3 separate regions of the Homo sapiens genome follow, and all the other regions are linked to region 3. The links are contacts of gene promoters, found by promoter capture Hi-C in human tissues and cell types (Jung and others, 2019). All regions are on one chromosome and are shown on one strand. Each heading gives the region's core, a stretch centred on a gene start or on the middle of the fragment in contact. The rest is flanking DNA. Distances are from core to core; before and after follow the strand shown. Region 1 overlaps FKBP14 (FKBP prolyl isomerase 14). Region 2 overlaps MIR550A3HG (MIR550A3 host gene). Region 3 holds the start of WIPF3 (WAS/WASL interacting protein family member 3).

Region 1 (3,902 bases), core at 91-2,590, 210 kb before region 3:
CCTGCGTGACAGAGCAAGACTCTATTTCAAAAAAAAAAGAAAAACAAAAAAACAAATGAAAATGGAAAATTGTAGTCTAGGCACTTATCAGACCTGACTTTCTGAGATTGAAAGGTTGTGATTAGACTCAATCTAATCACATGATCATAACCAAAACCCAAAAGACCCACTACTTGCAGACATTTATTCAAGTCAAAGATGCCACTATTTAATCTAGTTTTAAGAGAAGTGTCCATGGGGTGCAGTGGCTCATGCTTCTAATCCCAGCACTTTGGGAGGCTGAGGGGTTTAGATTGCTTGAGCCCAGGAGTTCAAGACCAGCCTGGGCAACATGGTGAAACCCCATCTCTACAAAAAATATAAAAGCCAGATGTGGTAGCACATGCCTGTAAGTCCCAGGTACGTGTGAGGCTGAGGTAGGAGGATTGCTTGAGCCTGGGAGGCAGAGGTTGCAGTGAGCTGAGATGGTGCCACTGCACTCCAGCCTGGGTGACAGAGCAAGATTCTGTCTAAAAGGCCGGGCGCGGTGGCTCACGCCTGTAATCCCAGCACTTTGGGAGGCCGAGGCGGGCAGATCACGAGGTCAGGAGATCGAGACCATCCTGGCTAACACGGTGAAACGCCGTCTCTACTAAAAATACAAAAAATTAGCTGGGCGTGGTGGCGGGCGCCTGTAGTCCCAGCTACTCGGGAGGCTGAGGCAGGAGAATGGCGTGAACCCGGGAGGCGGAGCTTGCAGTGAGCCGAGATTGCGCCACTGCACTCCAGCCTGGGCAACAGAGTGAGACTCCGTCTCAAAAAAAAAAAAAAAAAGATTCTGTCTAAAAAAAGAAAAGAAATGCCTAGTATTTAGATTCAGATTAAGAACAAGTAGTATGCTCTCATTGGGTATTCTCCAATAATATAAGCCCTATATGAGGATTGTATACATGACATAAGCTTTATCTCTGCCTTTGAGCAATATATATATAGAGAGAGCTATATATATATATATATTTTTAATTTTTTAATTTTTTATTTTTTTGACAGAGTCTCACTCTGTTGCCCAGGCTGGAGGGCAGCAGCGCAATCTCGATTCACTGCAACCTCTGCCTTCCAGGTTCAAGCGATTCAACTGCCTCAGCCTCCTGAATAGCTGGGATTACAGACGCATGCCATCATGCCTGGCTAACTTTTTTTTGTATTTTTAGTGGAGATGGGCTTTCATTATGTCGGCCAGGCTGATCTCCAACTCCTGACCTCAAGCAATCTTCCCACTTGGGCCTCCCAAAGTGCTGGGATAACAGGCATGAGCCACCACACCTGGCCCTGCCTTTGAGCAATATTTTGTGTCTCCACTTTAGCAGTTTAGCAACAGTTTTTTTAAGGGAAAAAGTTTCTATTATTTTTTAATTATCATTAAAACTATGTCATAAAATGGCTGTTTAGAAGGTATTATATTTAGTTAATGAACTAAATATAATAACAGTCCATGTCTGTGATATTGATTGGCTCAATGTGGGTATCTTATGAATCCAAGTTATTAATGGGATCTGTTATTTTGTAGGTTAAAGCATATTTAAAGAAGGAGTTTGAAAAACATGGTGCGGTGGTGAATGAAAGTCATCATGATGCTTTGGTGGAGGATATTTTTGATAAAGAAGATGAAGACAAAGATGGGTTTATATCTGCCAGAGAATTTACATATAAACACGATGAGTTATAGAGATACATCTACCCTTTTAATATAGCACTCATCTTTCAAGAGAGGGCAGTCATCTTTAAAGAACATTTTATTTTTATACAATGTTCTTTCTTGCTTTGTTTTTTATTTTTATATATTTTTTCTGACTCCTATTTAAAGAACCCCTTAGGTTTCTAAGTACCCATTTCTTTCTGATAAGTTATTGGGAAGAAAAAGCTAATTGGTCTTTGAATAGAAGACTTCTGGACAATTTTTCACTTTCACAGATATGAAGCTTTGTTTTACTTTCTCACTTATAAATTTAAAATGTTGCAACTGGGAATATACCACGACATGAGACCAGGTTATAGCACAAATTAGCACCCTATATTTCTGCTTCCCTCTATTTTCTCCAAGTTAGAGGTCAACATTTGAAAAGCCTTTTGCAATAGCCCAAGGCTTGCTATTTTCATGTTATAATGAAATAGTTTATGTGTAACTGGCTCTGAGTCTCTGCTTGAGGACCAGAGGAAAATGGTTGTTGGACCTGACTTGTTAATGGCTACTGCTTTACTAAGGAGATGTGCAATGCTGAAGTTAGAAACAAGGTTAATAGCCAGGCATGGTGGCTCATGCCTGTAATCCCAGCACTTTGGGAGGCTGAGGCGGGCGGATCACCTGAGGTTGGGAGTTCGAGACCAGCCTGACCAACACGGAGAAACCCTATCTCTACTAAAAATACAAAAGTAGCCGGGCGTGGTGATGCGTGCCTGTAATCCCAGCTACCCAGGAAGGCTGAGGCGGCAGAATCACTTGAACCCGGAGGCGGAGGTTGCGGTAAGCCGAGATCACCTCCAGCCTGGACACTCTGTCTCGAAAAAAAGAAAAGAAACACGGTTAATAACATATAAATATGTATGCATTGAGACATGCTACCTAGGACTTAAGCTGATGAAGCTTGGCTCCTAGTGATTGGTGGCCTATTATGATAAATAGGACAAATCATTTATGTGTGAGTTTCTTTGTAATAAAATGTATCAATATGTTATAGATGAGGTAGAAAGTTATATTTATATTCAATATTTACTTCTTAAGGCTAGCGGAATATCCTTCCTGGTTCTTTAATGGGTAGTCTATAGTATATTATACTACAATAACATTGTATCATAAGATAAAGTAGTAAACCAGTCTACATTTTCCCATTTCTGTCTCATCAAAAACTGAAGTTAGCTGGGTGTGGTGGCTCATGCCTGTAATCCCAGCACTTTGGGGGCCAAGGAGGGTGGATCACTTGAGATCAGGAGTTCAAGACCAGCCTGGCCAACATGGTGAAACCTTGTCTCTACTAAAAATACAAAAATTAGCCAGGCGTGGTGGTGCACACCTGTAGTCCCAGCTACTCGGGAGGCTGAGACAGGAGATTTGCTTGAACCCGGGAGGCGGAGGTTGCAGTGAGCCAAGATTGTGCCACTGCACTCCAGCCTGGGTGACAGAGCAAGACTCCATCTCAAAAAAAAAAAAAGAAGCAGACCTACAGCAGCTACTATTGAATAAATACCTATCCTGGATTTTAAAAAAGAAAAAAATATATATAATTTTATTTTAAATTGGCTTTTATCTTTAATTCTTTTTTTTAAAGTTATCAAATCTTCATTTTCTAAGAGTAGCCCTTTATAGTGTACAAAATGATATTAAGTGCATTATTATCTTCGCTTTTCATGGCTCTGAGTCATAAAACAAGCTGGTGGATCTCACTGTACCTAATTTATAGACGAGGAAATTGTCATTCAAAAAGATTGACTGTTATGCCCAGGGTCAGCACTAACCTGCAGAACCAGTATTCAGTCCCCAAGTTCAGTGTCTTCTACTGCCCTCTACTAATGAAAAGTGAAAATTTCCCTGGGGTCTAATTCTCTCTTCAGTTTGCTGTGCCGTTGTTTATCTTTGAGTCTTCATTCTCTGAAGATGGCTTTCTGCCTGTTTCTGGTACATTAGAATTCTCACTATGATATAGAAATGGCTTCAGTTTCATAGCATAATCTTGCAGTTAGCTCTGAATTGCCTCAAAAACCCTGAACAACGCGAGGTTCCAGATGTGTTTTACTTCTTTCATTCATATTTACCCCCATTTGTTGTTTAAAAAGAATTATGAACAATTATTACATCATATGTAGACCACTTTCACTGATTATATGTTGACATTTTCCTCAGTAAAACATAAAGTTCTTAACAAGACTAT
Region 2 (3,767 bases), core at 35-2,534, 140 kb after region 3:
TAAGAAATCATTAACATCAATTCTATACAATCTCTTCTGGAAAAGAGAAGAGGAAACACTTCCCAATTCTTTACCTCAAACTAGTATTACCTTGATACTAAAACCAACAAAGTACCAACAGTATCAAAACAAAGTAAACTTCAGACTGATATCCCTTGCGAATATAAACACAAAATTCCCAAACAAAATTGCAAAAATAGATTTCAATAATATATTAATTATATACCATGACCAAATGAGGTTTTCTTCCAGGGATGCAAGGCTGTTTCAATATTCAAATACATCATATTACATGTTAAGAGGCAAAATAAGAAAAATCACATAATCATATAAATTGGTACAGAAAAAAAAATTTGAAAGAATTCAATACCCATTCATGGTAAGAACTCTCAGAAAAAAAAAGAAATAAAAGGGAGATTTTCTCAACTGTGTAAAAATCACGTGCAAAGAACTTGTGGCTAACATTATGCTTAATGATTAAATACTGATGCTTTCTCCTAAGGCTGACAACAAGGCATGTATGTTCACATTCACCACTTATTAAACACAGTGCTAAAAGTTTTAGTGCAAAAGGCAAATAATGGAAATAAAAAGCATACAGATTAAAAAGTAAGAAATAAAACTGTCCCTATTTGCCCATGCCAGAACTATGTAAAAAATCCCAGCAAATCTAAAACAACAACAAAAAGATAACCACAACAAAACTCCTAGAACAAGTGAGTTCAGCAAAGTTGCGTGATAAAAGATAAACATAAAAAAATGTATTTTATGTGCTAATGATGGACACCAAAATTAAAATTATAATTCTATGACATGAAAAACTTAAATGTATATCTAGCAAAATACGTATAAGACTTAGATGATCAAAACTATACAATGCTGAGGAAAGGAATCAAAGGTGATCTAAATAAATGAAGAGATATACCATGTTCATAAACTGGAAGATTCAATAAAGATGTCAGTTCTTCCAAAATTGATTTACAAATTTAATGCAATTCTTATCAAAGTCCCAACAAGATTTTTGTAGATATAGCATGTTGTAAAATATATATGAAAAGGCAAAAAAGAAAAAAAGAACCTAGCCAAACCAATTTTGGAAAAGAATAAAGTAGGAGGAATCAGGCTACTTGCTTCTAAGACTTACTGCATAGATGCGTTAATTAAGACTACTGGCCAGACACAGTGGCTCACACCTGTAATCCCAGCGCTTTGGGAGGCTGATGTGGGCGGATCACTTGAGGGCAGGTGTTCAAGACCACATTGGCCAACATGGTGAAACCCAATTTCTACTAAAAATAAAAAAGTAGCTGGGCGTGGTGGCATGTGCCTGTAATCCCAGCTACTCAGGTGGCTGAGGCATGAGAATTGTTTGAACCCAGCAGACAGAGGCTGCAGTGTGCTGCGATCATGCCACTGCACTCCAACCTGGGCAACAGAGTGAGACTCAGTCTAAACAACAACAACAACAACAAAAACCTATATGGTATTGGCAGAGGGGTAGATGCATAAATCAGTGGAAGAGAACAGAGAACCCAGAAATAGACCCATACAAAATATGTCCAATTGACATATTTGGCAGAGGCACAAAAGCAATTCAGTGAAGGAAAGAAAGGAAAGATCCACTTTCAACAAATGGTGCTGGAGTAATGAACATCCATATGCAAACAAACAAACAAACAAACAGAATCTTGACCTAAATTTCATTCAAAATGGATCAGTTAGATATAAAATGCAAAACTCTTAACCTTTACAAAAAATACAGGAGAAAATCTTTATCTCTAGGGCTAGGCAAAGAATCCTTAGACTTGACACCAAAAGCACAATCAATAGGAGAAAAATGGACATACTGGACTTCATAAAAATTTTAAAATTTTTCTATGCAAAAGACCCTGTTTAAGAGAATGAAAAGGCAAGCTACAGAGTGGGAAAATATATTTGCAAGCCATATATATGAAAAGTAATTAGCATCTATAATATATAAAGAACACCCTAAGATCCAAAATTCATAAAACAAACAATTCAAATAGAAATGGAGCAAAATACATAAAGACACGTTTCACATACGGACGGCAAATAAGCACAAAAAGATGTACATCATCATTAGCCAACAGGGAAATGTAAATTAAAACCATAATGATATATCACTACATATGTGTAAGAATGAGTAACATAAAAAATAGTGACCATACCAAATGCAGGTGAGGATACAGATAAACCTAATTTTGGTTGTGCTTAGGTTGTATCCATTGACTACTGAGTATGTAGCACAAGGAAATTTGCATAGTTTCATTCATTCAACAAATATGATATTGAATCAGCTCCATATTCCAGGAAGTAGGCACCTGGGATACAGCTAGGAAATACATAATGGGCACGGGAAAACAGTAGAAAACAAGGTCATTCGCTGAGAGTGAAAGCGGGAGAGGAGGTTTGGGATAACTGGAGAGAGAAGATATGAAACAGGAGTCAAGGGGTTAGCAAAAGTAAGGCTCAAGAACTAAATCAGGATCTGTGGCCTATTTTTGTACCAGTAATGTGAAAAGGACAGTGTTTTCCCCCAACTTTTCCCCAGCAGTTTAAGCTAAGAGAGTTTAAGACTTATAGGGGAGATAAGGAAGAGCGGGGTGGGTGGGTTTCATGCCTTTCTCTAAGTGGCTGCTGTTCTCCCAGGCTTTACCATGGAGGATGCTTTCTGAGCACTCTTGCTAATCTTTTGTCAGCACCTTATGAGCTCTGTGTAAAAATGTCTGTAAGCAATTGCAAATTCCCTTGCTAACCCACACTAGGCATTTACCGACTGACTGGTGAACAATTTGAGCTGAGTTCTTTACCATTGTGTCTAGTGGCATGACCCGTATAATTAAATGCTTGTTTCTGTTCTCCTTGCACATGGTTTTTCTTTTTAATTTATTTTGGGTTATTTGATTGTCCTGTGACCTCAGCTCCCTGACCACTTCAGGAAAAGTTGTCAATTTGAAGACTGTCTGGCTTTTGTTGTTGTTGCTGCTGACATTGCTGGAAGGCCATGAGCAATGTTCTTTTTGGCTTTCTACATCCAAGGGAAAGCTGACCCAACATGATTAAATCCAACTCTCCATTTTCTCCGTGTTTATACTTGGGAATCTGATTATAGCTGGAGAAACACAATTCTGTTGGCTGGTTTTGTTCTCAGTTCAAGACCATCAACCTCAAATGAAGCCCTTGGTGCTGCCCAAGAAACTCACATTATATCCCTAGTCTATTCATTCTCCTAGACAAGAGGTCAGTAAGCTTTTCCTATAGAGAGCCAGACGATAAGTATTTTAGGCTTTGTGAGATAGTCTCTGTCTCATACTCTTTAATGTGTTTACATTTACCCCCAGGTTTGTATATGCATGTTTGGTTTGTTTATCTATTCATTCATGCATTTGTTTGGTATTTATCCTTTTTGCTGTTCTCTGAGTTTCTTGGATCTGTGGCTTGGTATCTGTCACTAATTTTGGAAAATTCTCAGTCATTTATTTTTCAAATGTTTATTCTTCCTCATCCTTTCCTCTCCCACTGGGATTCTAATTATGCATATATTAGAATATTTGATATGGTGTCACAGCTCTTAGATGCTCTTATCATTTCCTTCCTCCATTATTTTTCTCTTTGCATTCCTATTGACCTATCTTCATACTCACTGATTATTTCTTCTGCTGTGCTGTGTCTGCTGATGAGCCCATCTAAGGCATTTTTTACTTCTTGTTTTTATTTTCAGCATTTCCCTTCGATTCTTATAGTGT
Region 3 (3,902 bases), core at 720-3,219:
CCAGGCTGTTACCCTGAGTAAGTAATTTAACCTCTGTGACCTTTTATTTTCTCATCTGTAAAAAAGGCACAATAACAATATCTCTGTTAAAGAATTGCTGCGAATCACAGGAGGTGATGCACATAAAGGCATCTGCAGTGTATGTTTCATTTCCAGTTACTTCTTAACTTTCTTTTGCCCCTCCTCGCCACTTCTTTTCTGATTTGGTTTTTGTGGTTTTTAAATGTATCTTTGAAATGCATTAGCTGGAAAACTGCAGCAATCTGTGTGTTACCACAATGAGTGGACTTTAGCATCACATTTTTATTTACTTTTTCACTGAGGTAGAATTTACGTTAAGTGCACAAGTCTCAAGGGTATAACTTCAGTAATTCTTAGGTCAAGGTGAGAAGCATTTCTAGCATCCCAGAAGCCTCCCTCATGTCCTGTCCAGGTATTGACCTGGAGTTTATCTCCTTGCAAGGCCCAAAAACAACCTCTCCTCTGACCTCTTTCGTAATGATAAAGTTAAAAAAAATTGAAGGGAGGCAGGAGTCCCAGTGATAACTATTAATGCTGGGCACAAGAAGTGCACTCCCAGTCCTCCCTGTGAAGTGAGAAAAGATTCTGGAAAGGAGGAGGCGGAGGGGCACAAACCTTCTAAATCACACTGGTCATGCCAAACAAGGCCCTCATTTACAGCCAAGGACCCCAGGCACAGAGGCGAAGAGACAGCCTAACTTCCTGCTACAGAGTAACTTTCCTCCCCAATACAGCCAGTTACAAAGCGCCCTGAGTGTCAGGGATTGGCCACACTGTCCCAGGGCGCATGGAACCGCTCTCCTGGCCTTTCCCTGCAGAAACTTCTTTCCAGAGGGAGGCGCACACACGGTCCCCACGCCGCCCCGGCGCCCGCCACGGGCACACCCACGCGGCTGGCACGCCACCCTCCAAAGGCGCTGTTCCTGAGAGCCGGTGCCTGCCTGCCCACGGGGCCCGGGCGGCGCTCCTCCAGGTCCAGGGCGGCCGGGTGCCCGCCCTCCCCGCCACCTTCAGAGAGTGCGTGTCAGGGGCTGGGGGAAATCTGCTCTGCCACCTACCTACCCACCACCTAATCCTCCAAAGGACCCTAAACCCATTTGTGGCCAAATGTACATTGCTGGAGCACAGTCTGACTACTGACCCCAGGGGCTTGGAGATGAGCACGGGAGGGGTGTCCAGAGACCTGCGCTCTGTCCCCATGAGCTGTGTGACCTTGGACAAGTCACTTCACATCTCTGGAGTTGGCTTCCTCACTAGGGGGCTCCTTCTGTATTCCCCAAGCCACCTCCGGCTCTGCAATTTCCTAGCTCTCTTTTACTCCGCCCCAGCCCTTCCCGCGACAGCCCCCTCCCCAGCGAGACCCCAGCCTTTTGTTCCGGGGGCGAAGCGGAGAAGAGAGAGCGTCGCGAAGGACCAGGCCGAGGCGGCCTCGGTGCCAGGGGCTGCTCACCGGGGAGTCCAGTCCGGAGAAGTCACCAAGCAACCCCGTGGTGACCTCGCTCCCCACCCCGCGGTTTGTTTCCGCCCGGCCCGGCCCGGCCCGGCCGGGGCGGCGTGGCAGGGTGCGGGTGGGGGGCGTGAGCGCCGCGCGGCACGTCGACAACCTCCTGGGCCCGGGGCTGCAGCCCGGCGGGGGTTCCCCGGCCCTCCCACGCCCTCAGGATCTCTGTCCCGGGCCGGGCCACTCTGCTCCGGGACCGACCAGGGCGGCGGCCGCCACACCGCCCGTTCCTTCCACCCTCGGGCACCGACCCGCACCCGCGCGGGAAGCCGCTACCTGCAGGTGGCGGAGCCGGGGGCTGGACTGGACTCGAGCTCCGGCCGACGTCTCCGCCGCCGCCGCCTCCGGCTCCGGGCTCCGTCCCGCAGCGCCCGTGCTCCAAGCGGCGCCGCTACCGCCGAGCTGCGCTCGGTGCGCCCGGCTCGCTCCCCGGCCACCGGCTCTGGTGCTGCCGGGACGCGGAGGCGGGGCCGCCGCCCCCACCTGCTCGCAGGCTCCTGCCTGGGAGCCGCCGCCGCCCCGCGGCAGGGACACGGCCCCGGCGGGCGGGGTCGCTCTGGGACCCTGGAGGCGGGTCCCAAGTCGGCGGGCGCGCCTCCCGGGTACAGAGTCCCAAGTCTCAGCTGCGGAGAGACTGAGGCCTAAGGCTGGAATTCCCCAAATAGGAGCTGTTGCGCGGGCGGCACACGGCCCAGCACAGCTACTCTGGGGACACGCCACTCCTTGAATTTATTCCAAAATGTTGAGCCCTTACTAAGCTCCAGGCGGTGTCATAAGCGATGGGGACGAGAGAACAAGATTACCTCTTGCCCTCGTGGAGTTCACAGTCTAGAAAAGGAAAGCGACCAATGGGCGATTACAGCACAACCAAGAGGAGGCAGAGGCCTCCTGAGCCGGCTCCCAGAGGGAGCACCTGATCTAAACTTGGGGTGGGGAGTAGGTCAGGGAGGGCTTCTTGAGGAGCTGACGTCGACGAGAAAAACTGAAGACTGAGTGTGAATTAGCCAGGTGATGAGAGAATTATCCGGGTAGCCTGGGGAGGTAGATTGATGTCCCAGGTAGAGTCGAAGGGAGGAGAAAGCAGACTGAAAACTGAAATAGGGCCGGGCGCGGTGGCTCAAGCCTGGAATCCAAGGACTTTGGGAGGCCGAGGTGGACGGATCACTTGAGGTCAGGAGTTACTAGCCTGGCCAACATGGTGAAGCCCTGTCTCTACCAAAAAATACAAAAGTTAGCCGGGTGTGGTGGCGCTCTCTAGTCCTAGCTACTCGGGAGGCTGAGGTGGAAGGATCTCTTGAACCCAGGAGGCAAAAGTTGCAATGAACCACTGCACTCCAGCCTGGGCGATAGAGTGAGACCCTGTCTCAAAAAACCAAACCAAACCAAACAAAGAAACAAACAAAAACAAACCTGAAATAAGCTTGAAGAACGGAAAACCTTGCTTCTGTCACATTTCTTGTTCAGGCCCTTGGAGGATGCAGAAAGTTTGTGTCCGAGGCTGAATGCATTGCTGTAGGTGCTGAGATCATTGGGTGAGGATTCTGTATTGCCCATGTCCTGGGCATTCCTGCTAGTGGAGGAGCTAAGCGGGTACTCGTGGACTGTTCACTCAGCCTCGGTGTTTGAGTATCTGCCATGAGCCAGACACTCTGCAGGGCCTCAGGGCAAGGTGTCTAACTCTAAAGTTGCTGCTGGTCTGGAATAGAGGAGAAACCTGGCGCTCAGCGCTGTGCTGAGGCTTGTGTGAAATGTTGGGGACCCAGGTGAGGGAGCAGCCAATGCCAGCAGGGAAGATCTCACACGTGGATTGCAGCCTGTATTCAGGTTCAAGTTCTGTAGTGGCTGCTGTCAAAGTATGTTCCCCAAGCAGCCCTTAGCTGATCTCTTAATTACTCATGTTTGTAGCTGGGCAATGTGTCGAAAGCAAGGATTAATAATACACTTTTGATGTCTTTCACTCCAGTGTCGTCAAGAACATGGTTTTCTCTTTTGATTTAGGTGACGAAAGGTCTATGTGTAGTGAGTGGAAGCTGATGAGGCACTTGCTTTCCACCTGTTTGTCCTGAGTTCCTCTTGCCCTTTCCTCCTTTAGAATCATAATAGATGACCACAGGTATGGAACCTGAAGAACAGTTCTCCAACATAAAATTCATAAGCCCTCTTACATGGGTGATTGTTACTAAAACAAAAACAAAACCCAAAACCCCAAAACATGACCCAGCCACTCTCCTTCTCTGGACCTCCAGTGCTAAAGCTCACTAAATACATAACCACTAGTATTCTAATTCAAAAAGGAAGAAAAGTCAAACTATTAGAGAAGACATTGCCATGGGCCTAGAGAGTTCCCATCAGATCTCCTGAGCAGCCCAAGCATGAGCCA

What was found. Contacts are between HindIII fragments. The study calls those that stand out against the background at their distance.
Region 1: a fragment that was not itself captured here is called in contact with the fragment with the promoter of WIPF3 in region 3 in 1 of the 25 tissues and cell types used here (dorsolateral prefrontal cortex).
Region 2: a contact is called between a fragment that was not itself captured here and the fragment with the promoter of WIPF3 in region 3, in 2 of the 25 tissues and cell types used here (mesendoderm cells and neural progenitor cells).

What each region holds. Positions count from the first base shown.
Region 1 is chr7:30,012,538-30,016,439 of GRCh38, reverse strand. FKBP14 (FKBP prolyl isomerase 14) reads left to right here. Exons shown (of 4, transcript NM_017946.4): 4 at 1,547-3,902. The coding sequence ends at 1,705. All of the region lies in intron 2 of FKBP14-AS1 (FKBP14 antisense RNA 1), which reads right to left. Among named protein-coding and RNA genes, the nearest start is that of FKBP14, 12 kb to the left of the region's middle. The HindIII fragment of the contact is 5,507 bases long and covers 1-3,902 here.
Region 2 is chr7:29,664,913-29,668,679 of GRCh38, reverse strand. The region is part of intron 1 of MIR550A3HG (MIR550A3 host gene); the gene reads left to right. Among named protein-coding and RNA genes, the nearest start is that of MIR550A3, 14 kb to the left of the region's middle. The HindIII fragment of the contact is 5,345 bases long and covers 1-3,767 here.
Region 3 is chr7:29,804,575-29,808,476 of GRCh38, reverse strand. It overlaps WIPF3 (WAS/WASL interacting protein family member 3), which reads right to left and starts at 1,969. Exons shown (of 9, transcript NM_001080529.3): 1 at 1,799-1,969. RefSeq lists an enhancer at 1,324-2,233. The HindIII fragment of the contact is 12,406 bases long and covers 1-3,488 here.